Linked DNA regions of Homo sapiens: region 1 is linked to region 2. Evidence: promoter capture Hi-C in 16 types of primary human blood cells and fetal thymus (Javierre and others, 2016). All regions are on one chromosome and are shown on one strand. The core of a region is centred on a gene start or on the middle of the fragment in contact, and the rest is flanking DNA. Distances in the headings are between cores, read along the strand shown. Region 1 overlaps EVI5 (ecotropic viral integration site 5). Region 2 holds the start of CDC7 (cell division cycle 7).

Region 1 (3,307 bases), core at 361-2,860, 1.1 Mb before region 2:
GAATAACAGTGACCTATAACTAGTAACATTTTTAATAATGTTATGGTATAAAATGGATAGGTAATTTTTTTTAATTTTTAGGTCTTGTATCTATAGTCTCAGTATTTATATTTCTGATTATTAGAACCAGATCAATAGTAACCATCTTCGAAGAGCAGAACAAGAGGTGATTAGCCTACAGGAGAAAGTGCAGTATCTTTCTGCACAGAACAAAGGACTCCTTACTCAATTAAGTGAAGCAAAGCGTAAACAAGCAGAGATTGAATGCAAGGTAAATATGTCAACTAACTGATTTTGTTTTTTGTCAATATAATAATGCCTTTTTTTTGTTTGTTTTATCGTGATTAGATTATCTTAAAAACAAAACAAAAAAGCTCGTCCTATTTTCTACTTTTCCTGAACTTGTTTTGGTAGTTGCTTTCAGACCAGGTCAGCTCATCTTGCTTCTGGGGTGGATTTTAGTCAAGAAACATTTTCAGTCACTTCCTTGGTTAATTTAATTTCCTGGATTGGCATTTACTAGTATTTCTTTACAGTTTTTCTTTTGACTGGTAACCCTTTAAAACCAGAGCTTTTAATGGCTTGATCAAAAAAGATGGGTCATTTAGAGAGGTTAGGGCTCCTCTGCTTTGATTGGTATCTTATTAGTGGGCAGTAATGTTAATAACATTGATACATGTTTTCTGGATAGACTAGAGAGCAAAAGAAATGTGTATGTACCAGTGTGTTGGGAAAAATGGGTATATTACCCATTATTATTTTAATCAGTTATATACTTTACTTTTTTGTGAAGTGTTTGGATTCAAAAAGCATCAAAAGTATTTGAATGCAAGTACATTCTTTCCTGAAATAAATTTACAATATAGCAGTGGTGAGAGAGTGGGGGAAAGGCAGTGAGATGGAAGGAGAGGAGGGAGGGTTTGGGGGGGTGTGTGTGTGTGTGTGTGTGTGTGTGTGTGTGTGTGAAATAACTAAAGAGATGACTGTAGACTGGGCATTAGAATGGATTACTAAAGGCAAGTTATGGGATTTAAAAAAATAAACTAGGCATCCACCTTTCCATGGTGAGATAGTAGGAATGATGCCCTTTAAAGATTCCAGCCTTATTATTGTATAAGAAATAAGACTTTTGATGGCACATGTAAAGCTGTAATTCCATCAGCTTATTCTGGTGACATTAAAAACCAAGAGTGAAGCTTGAATGGTTTATCAGTGTCACTGAAATCCAGAGATGAAATTACATCCTTATAAATATGCATGGCTGTTACAATGTATACTGACAGAAATCTGTAGGCAGTACTGAAATTCCTACTAAAAGCACAGTCACTTTTGAAGGATATGACTAAACTATAAATAAAATAATATTAAATGAGGTTGTATCAGTCTGATTTGTCATACCAATATCTGATTGAGTTTTTATGATGCTAAATTGTCTGTGTTGACATCTTATAGATAACTAAATTTAATCTTTTATTTATTATTGGTGTTAGTTTTCCTTAAACATATTTTGATAATGGTGTTACTAGATTAAATATTGCTCCTCAAATGCCTTAGTACCTGTTGAGCAAAGTAAAGTGTTCTTTGGAAATAAATCTTTGAGGAACTTGCTGTTGAAAATAATAATTTTCTTTGAACTTGTCTAAGTAATGGGCTCAGATTTAGAATATTAGAGGATTTTATGAACTAATATGGGATTTTATTTAATTTTTAATTGTTCATTAATACCTCTGTGAAGTATGTTACAGATGCAAACTCTGATATCTCCCCTGTGTTTAAGCTGTGTGTTAATTTATTCAATCTTTCGTGATGCCTTTGCAGGTTTTGAGAATGACCAATGTATTGTTACCCTAGCACCTAGTACATTCTGATTAAATGTGTATGTTTTACCCTGTTATGTTGGAATAATTCGGGAACAAAGTTAATTTTTCAAGAAAGCCAGTCCGTGAATTATGTAAATCTGATTCATTTTCATTTAGTATTATAATATTATAGCTTATGATTAATTTATAATTATTAAAGCTTTTTTATTTTTAGTTGTGTAAAATGTGTGGATATTGTTTATAATATTAATGTTATTTTCCCTCTCAACTTAATTTGAATGTTCTCACTTAAAGTTGAAATATTACAAGCCTGTGAACCCCAGTTTCAAAATGCAAAACACTCTAAAACCCTGGAGTTTTTTCATAAATTTCACACAAATTCCTTTGGAGGCAAAACTTAATTTGAATTGATATATGGCCATTTATAATTGTTATTTATTCCACTTGATGTGAACATTTATATCTCACTGCTTCGTTGTATGTATTGAGCATATTGTTTCATTATGGATGCTGCCTTAGACCCTGCTAGATAATACTTAACGTATGGTTTATGCAACCTATTACTTTTCTAAAATCTGAATTCCAAACACACCTGGTTTATTTTGTTTCGGTTTGGTTTACCACACTAGAATAAGGAAGAAGTGATGGCTGTGAGGCTTCGGGAAGCAGATAGCATAGCTGCTGTGGCTGAACTACGACAACACATTGCTGAGCTTGAAATCCAGGTACCATATGAAAATAATAAAGTACATGTAAAAATATAGTTTCTTCTATCCTCTTTGTCTGAACAGTAACTTACTCTTTATCCTCGTGACTGTGATTCTTTTTTCAGTAATCATTCATTTCCAATTTTTTTTTATTGTGGTAAAATAGACATAAAACTTACCATTTTAAAGTATACAGTTCTGCAGCATTAAGTATATTTGACACTGTTGTGCAGCCATCACCACCATCCATATCCAGAACTTTTTCATCCTCCCTAACTGAACCTCTTTGCCCATTAAACACTAACTTCCCATTCCCCAGCAACTGGCAACCACCAGCAACTGGAAACCACCATTCTACTTTGTCTCTATGAGTTTGACCACTCTGGTTACCTCATATAAGTGGGATCATACAATACAGTCATATGCTGCATAAGGACATTTCAGTGACGGACAGCATATATGGTAATGGTCCCATAGGATGATAATGAAGCTGAAAAATTCCTTTTGCCTAGTGACTATAGCCATCATTATGTTATAGTGCAACACATTACTCATGTGTTTGTGATGAGGCTGGTATAAACAAACCCACTGCACTGCCACTCTTATAAAAGTGTAGCACGTACAGTTGTGTATAGCACATAATACTTGATAATAAATGACTATGTTACTGGTTCATATGTTTGCTATACTATTTGTTGTTTTGCTATACTAATATTGCTATTTTAGAGTCTAATTCTACTTATACAAAACAAGAGTTAACTCTAAGACAGTCTCAGATCC
Region 2 (3,339 bases), core at 597-3,096:
AATAAAGCTAGGTGACGATATGGGGAACAAATAAAAAGCATCAGCTGAAGATTAAAGTTTCAAGTTTAGGTAAGTGGGATAACTGACTTCCATCAAAGCAGAAAGTATGTGATGTCATATTTTTCTAGGGTGGGGTTATAAAGAATATATGGACAAAAGGTCAAAATAAGTATCTTTTAGACAAGCACAGAATTCACTTAAGACAAAGATGGGAAAGATGATCTGGCTACCCTTTCAGAAAAAAAAAAATACAGTCAACTAGAATTCCTCTATTTAACAAATATTTATTATTAACAAATACCTACTATGTCCCAGGTCCTGTGCCAGAGCAGAAATGAAGGTACACATGCGAGTGTACAAGAGCAGGCACTGCTTGACCCTGTCTTATTCACCCTAAGGTCTGGTTTACGGTCAAAGAACATTTCATGCTGTACACTGAGATATGGTGCTTTATTATTGCTACAAACATTTCATATTTTTTTGTCTGTGAGTTCTGCTTTTGAATACTTAAGTGATGATCTCCAGTGTCAATTTCTACATTTAAGCTTAAGGCAATGTGGTGAGTAGAGATAAGAACACAGATACAAAAGAGAAATTTAATTTGGGCATCATCAAATTTCTGCATTCTTAATTACCAATACTGAGACCATAGCAACTTCAACCGTAAAACAGGTTGTATTACAGTCTTCCAAATCGCAATTCAGTCCTACATTTAGATCATACGAAGCTCTGTTTTAACACTGTCCTATAGAAACATACAATTCACTTTATAAGATTCAATCTTATTTTTTGAGAGGAATTGAAAACACAGAATTGTTGCCTGAAAAATCTTTATAACTGTACATCTTTGGATTTAAACACGTACCTGCAAGTTTAAAATTCTGCTCGTTTTTTTTTAAAGAGCCTTCAGCCTGAAACCGGTCACGCTGGGGAGAAAAAGCCATTGGCTCATCCATCTGAATCCCCAAAGACGCCTCCATCACAAGCCAATTGAGATGCAAAATGCCAGCTAAGGGGTTACATCCACAGGGGGAGCAAAGCAGCTGTGAAAATTAGAACACTAGAGAAATTTAGATCACTCGCTAAACCACGCACTAAAAACATGCTACTGCCCCCCAAAGGGGCAAACATTTTCAAACGCACGATGTGTCCAAACCTCCACAGTAGGGCATACTGTGGCCTTGTCTAAGGAATTCCATGTGCTTTATTTTCACCTATCAGAAACACCGGCAGGGGGCTGCAGGGAGAATTTCCCGGCTTGGGCACCCGCGCAGCAGCAGGCGCAGTGGGAAACGGCGAGGCTGCCAGTCCGGCACAGCCAGCGGGACCGCGTGGGGGAGGGGCCGAGCGCCGGGGGCGGTTTGAAGTCAGGAAAAGAACTGAGGGAGAAAACCTTTTCGCCACTGACAGGAAGCGCCAGGAGGCTCGTCCAAGGCCCCAAGCAAGTTGACGGAGAACTGATACGACCCTGGCCACGAGTACTGGGCGGAGGAGGAGAAGGGTGAATGAATGGGAATCCGCCGGCCAGCGCTGGCCGCGAGCTCAGCCGGGAAGGACCGGCTTCCCTCGGGCCAGAGACCGAACCAGATGCTTAGTGCGCAGGCGCGCGACTTTCCCGCCGCAGGTCGGAGGGATCCGAAGGGGGGCGGGAAAAGGAACTGCACGGCGAGAAAACCGAAGTCACGATCCAGAATTCGTTCCTAATCCCTCACAATCCCGCGCCATGGAACAAACCGTCGGAAACTCACGGTTTAAGGGAGTACGACTTCTGTGGCTCCCCAGATGCCTGGGTCGCCGTCTCCAAGAGATCCCCACCTACCGAGTCGATCGGATGCGCCTGCGCAACACTTCCCGCCGCCGCTCTGGTTGCACATGCGCACACTAAAGCCCTCGACCCCGCGGATTCCGCTACTGGGCGTTTGCGCAAGAGGGTGGGGTTTCTTCCCGCCGCCTTGGCCAGCTAGAAGAGCGGTTACGGGAATGAAGCCCGTGGATGATCTTAAAAAACAGGGTGAACCATAAGGCTAAGGGCCCAGCATGATTTCCAGGAAAGAAGCTAGCTCAGAGAAGGAAAAATCTCAGGTGCTGACACATCCCTATATACGTGGCCGGCCGCACAACACATTGGGCACTCCATGGATAAAAGGCACTTTCTTGACTCTGCTTTTATTTCCTTTTCGTTGAGTGCCCTACTTCCCCGTTAAAAACAAGCAGAAAATGTAATTGCTGATTGTTTGTGGCTGTGTTAGTAGAAATTAGCACAGTGGCAGGAAGGCAGTGTATACTATTTACTGAGCCCTTGGCTATGAGGTAGGTGGGTTTTTCTAGGGGCTGGAATCATAGTGAGCAAGATAAACACCATCCCTGTAGGAAGCTAAATTCCAATGAAGCGATGACAATAACGGATGAATAAATGAACAGTATTCTTTCCGGCATTGATTACTACTTGAGGGAAATACTGACCAGGAAGGTGGCATCTAGATGGTCAGGGAAGCCCTCTCAAAGAGACCTGGATGAGAAAGAGCTGGTAGGGAGACTGTTGTCCTGGCAAAGAAAGGATAGGGCAAATGCAGAGAGAAAGAGGAACTTGGTATGTTGCAGGGGCAGGGCAGGAAAGGCCAGTGTGGGGGAAGCATAGTGAGTGAGCCGCAAGATAGTCCCAGATAGATGAAGGTGGAGAGTTAGGCAGAAGCCAGACCAGGGTCCTTGAAAGCCAGGGTAAGAAGTTTAGTGTTTGTTCTGAGTACAATTGGAAGCTATTTGAAAGTTTTAAAGCAAGGGAGTAATATGATCTATCTGTTATGAAGAGAATGGATTGTAGAGGGGCAAGTGTGGAAGCAGAGGAAATAGGATGCACTTTATGTTTAGGAGAAACATAATGGTAGTTTGGACCAGAACAATGGCGGAAGAAATAAAAGAAAGAAGACAATGGGATTTGGTGATTGGCTATGGAAAATGAAGAAAAGGGCATCATCAACAGTGAATCTTAGGTTTTGGGCTAGCATATGTGTGGGTGGTAGTGCCACATAGAAGGGAAGTCTGTGAGGTAATGGTTTTTGATTGAGTGAGGTGGAAGAGAGTAAATCAAGGATTCTAGTGTGGATACCGAGAAAGAGAAAAGCAGACCTTGACATCCAGGAGATGGCCTGGTACTACCAGCTTGGTTTGCTGTTGCTTTGAGCTGGCCTGGCAATCACAGCCAAGCATTGGTATTCTTCTGTTGAACATAAACAATTTCACAGAACATCAGACAAGACAGAGTTGTGACCGTGATAGATCAAGACAAAAGTAAGATCACTCTATAATCATATGTGAACACAGACACAACATCAACATTGC

Evidence for each region. The method cuts DNA at HindIII sites, captures the fragments that hold promoters and counts their contacts. A CHiCAGO score of 5 or more calls a contact.
Region 1: a contact is called between a fragment that was not itself captured here and the fragment with the promoter of CDC7 in region 2, in 1 of 17 cell types (activated CD4 T cells). The highest score is 5.2, in activated CD4 T cells.

Annotation. Positions count from the first base shown.
Region 1 is chr1:92,604,545-92,607,851 of GRCh38, reverse strand. EVI5 (ecotropic viral integration site 5) reads left to right here. Exons shown (of 20, transcript NM_001350197.2): 17 at 125-271; 18 at 2,450-2,545. Among named protein-coding and RNA genes, the nearest start is that of GFI1, 120 kb to the right of the region's middle. The HindIII fragment of the contact is 823 bases long and covers 1,199-2,021 here.
Region 2 is chr1:91,499,358-91,502,696 of GRCh38, reverse strand. CDC7 (cell division cycle 7) reads right to left here and starts at 1,846. Exons shown (of 12, transcript NM_003503.4): 1 at 1,749-1,846; 2 at 866-1,043. The coding sequence starts at 980. LOC105378856 (a long non-coding RNA gene) reads left to right here and starts at 1,849. Exons shown (of 3, transcript XR_947599.4): 1 at 1,849-3,339. RefSeq lists an enhancer at 1,005-1,204. The HindIII fragment of the contact is 5,865 bases long and covers 548-3,339 here.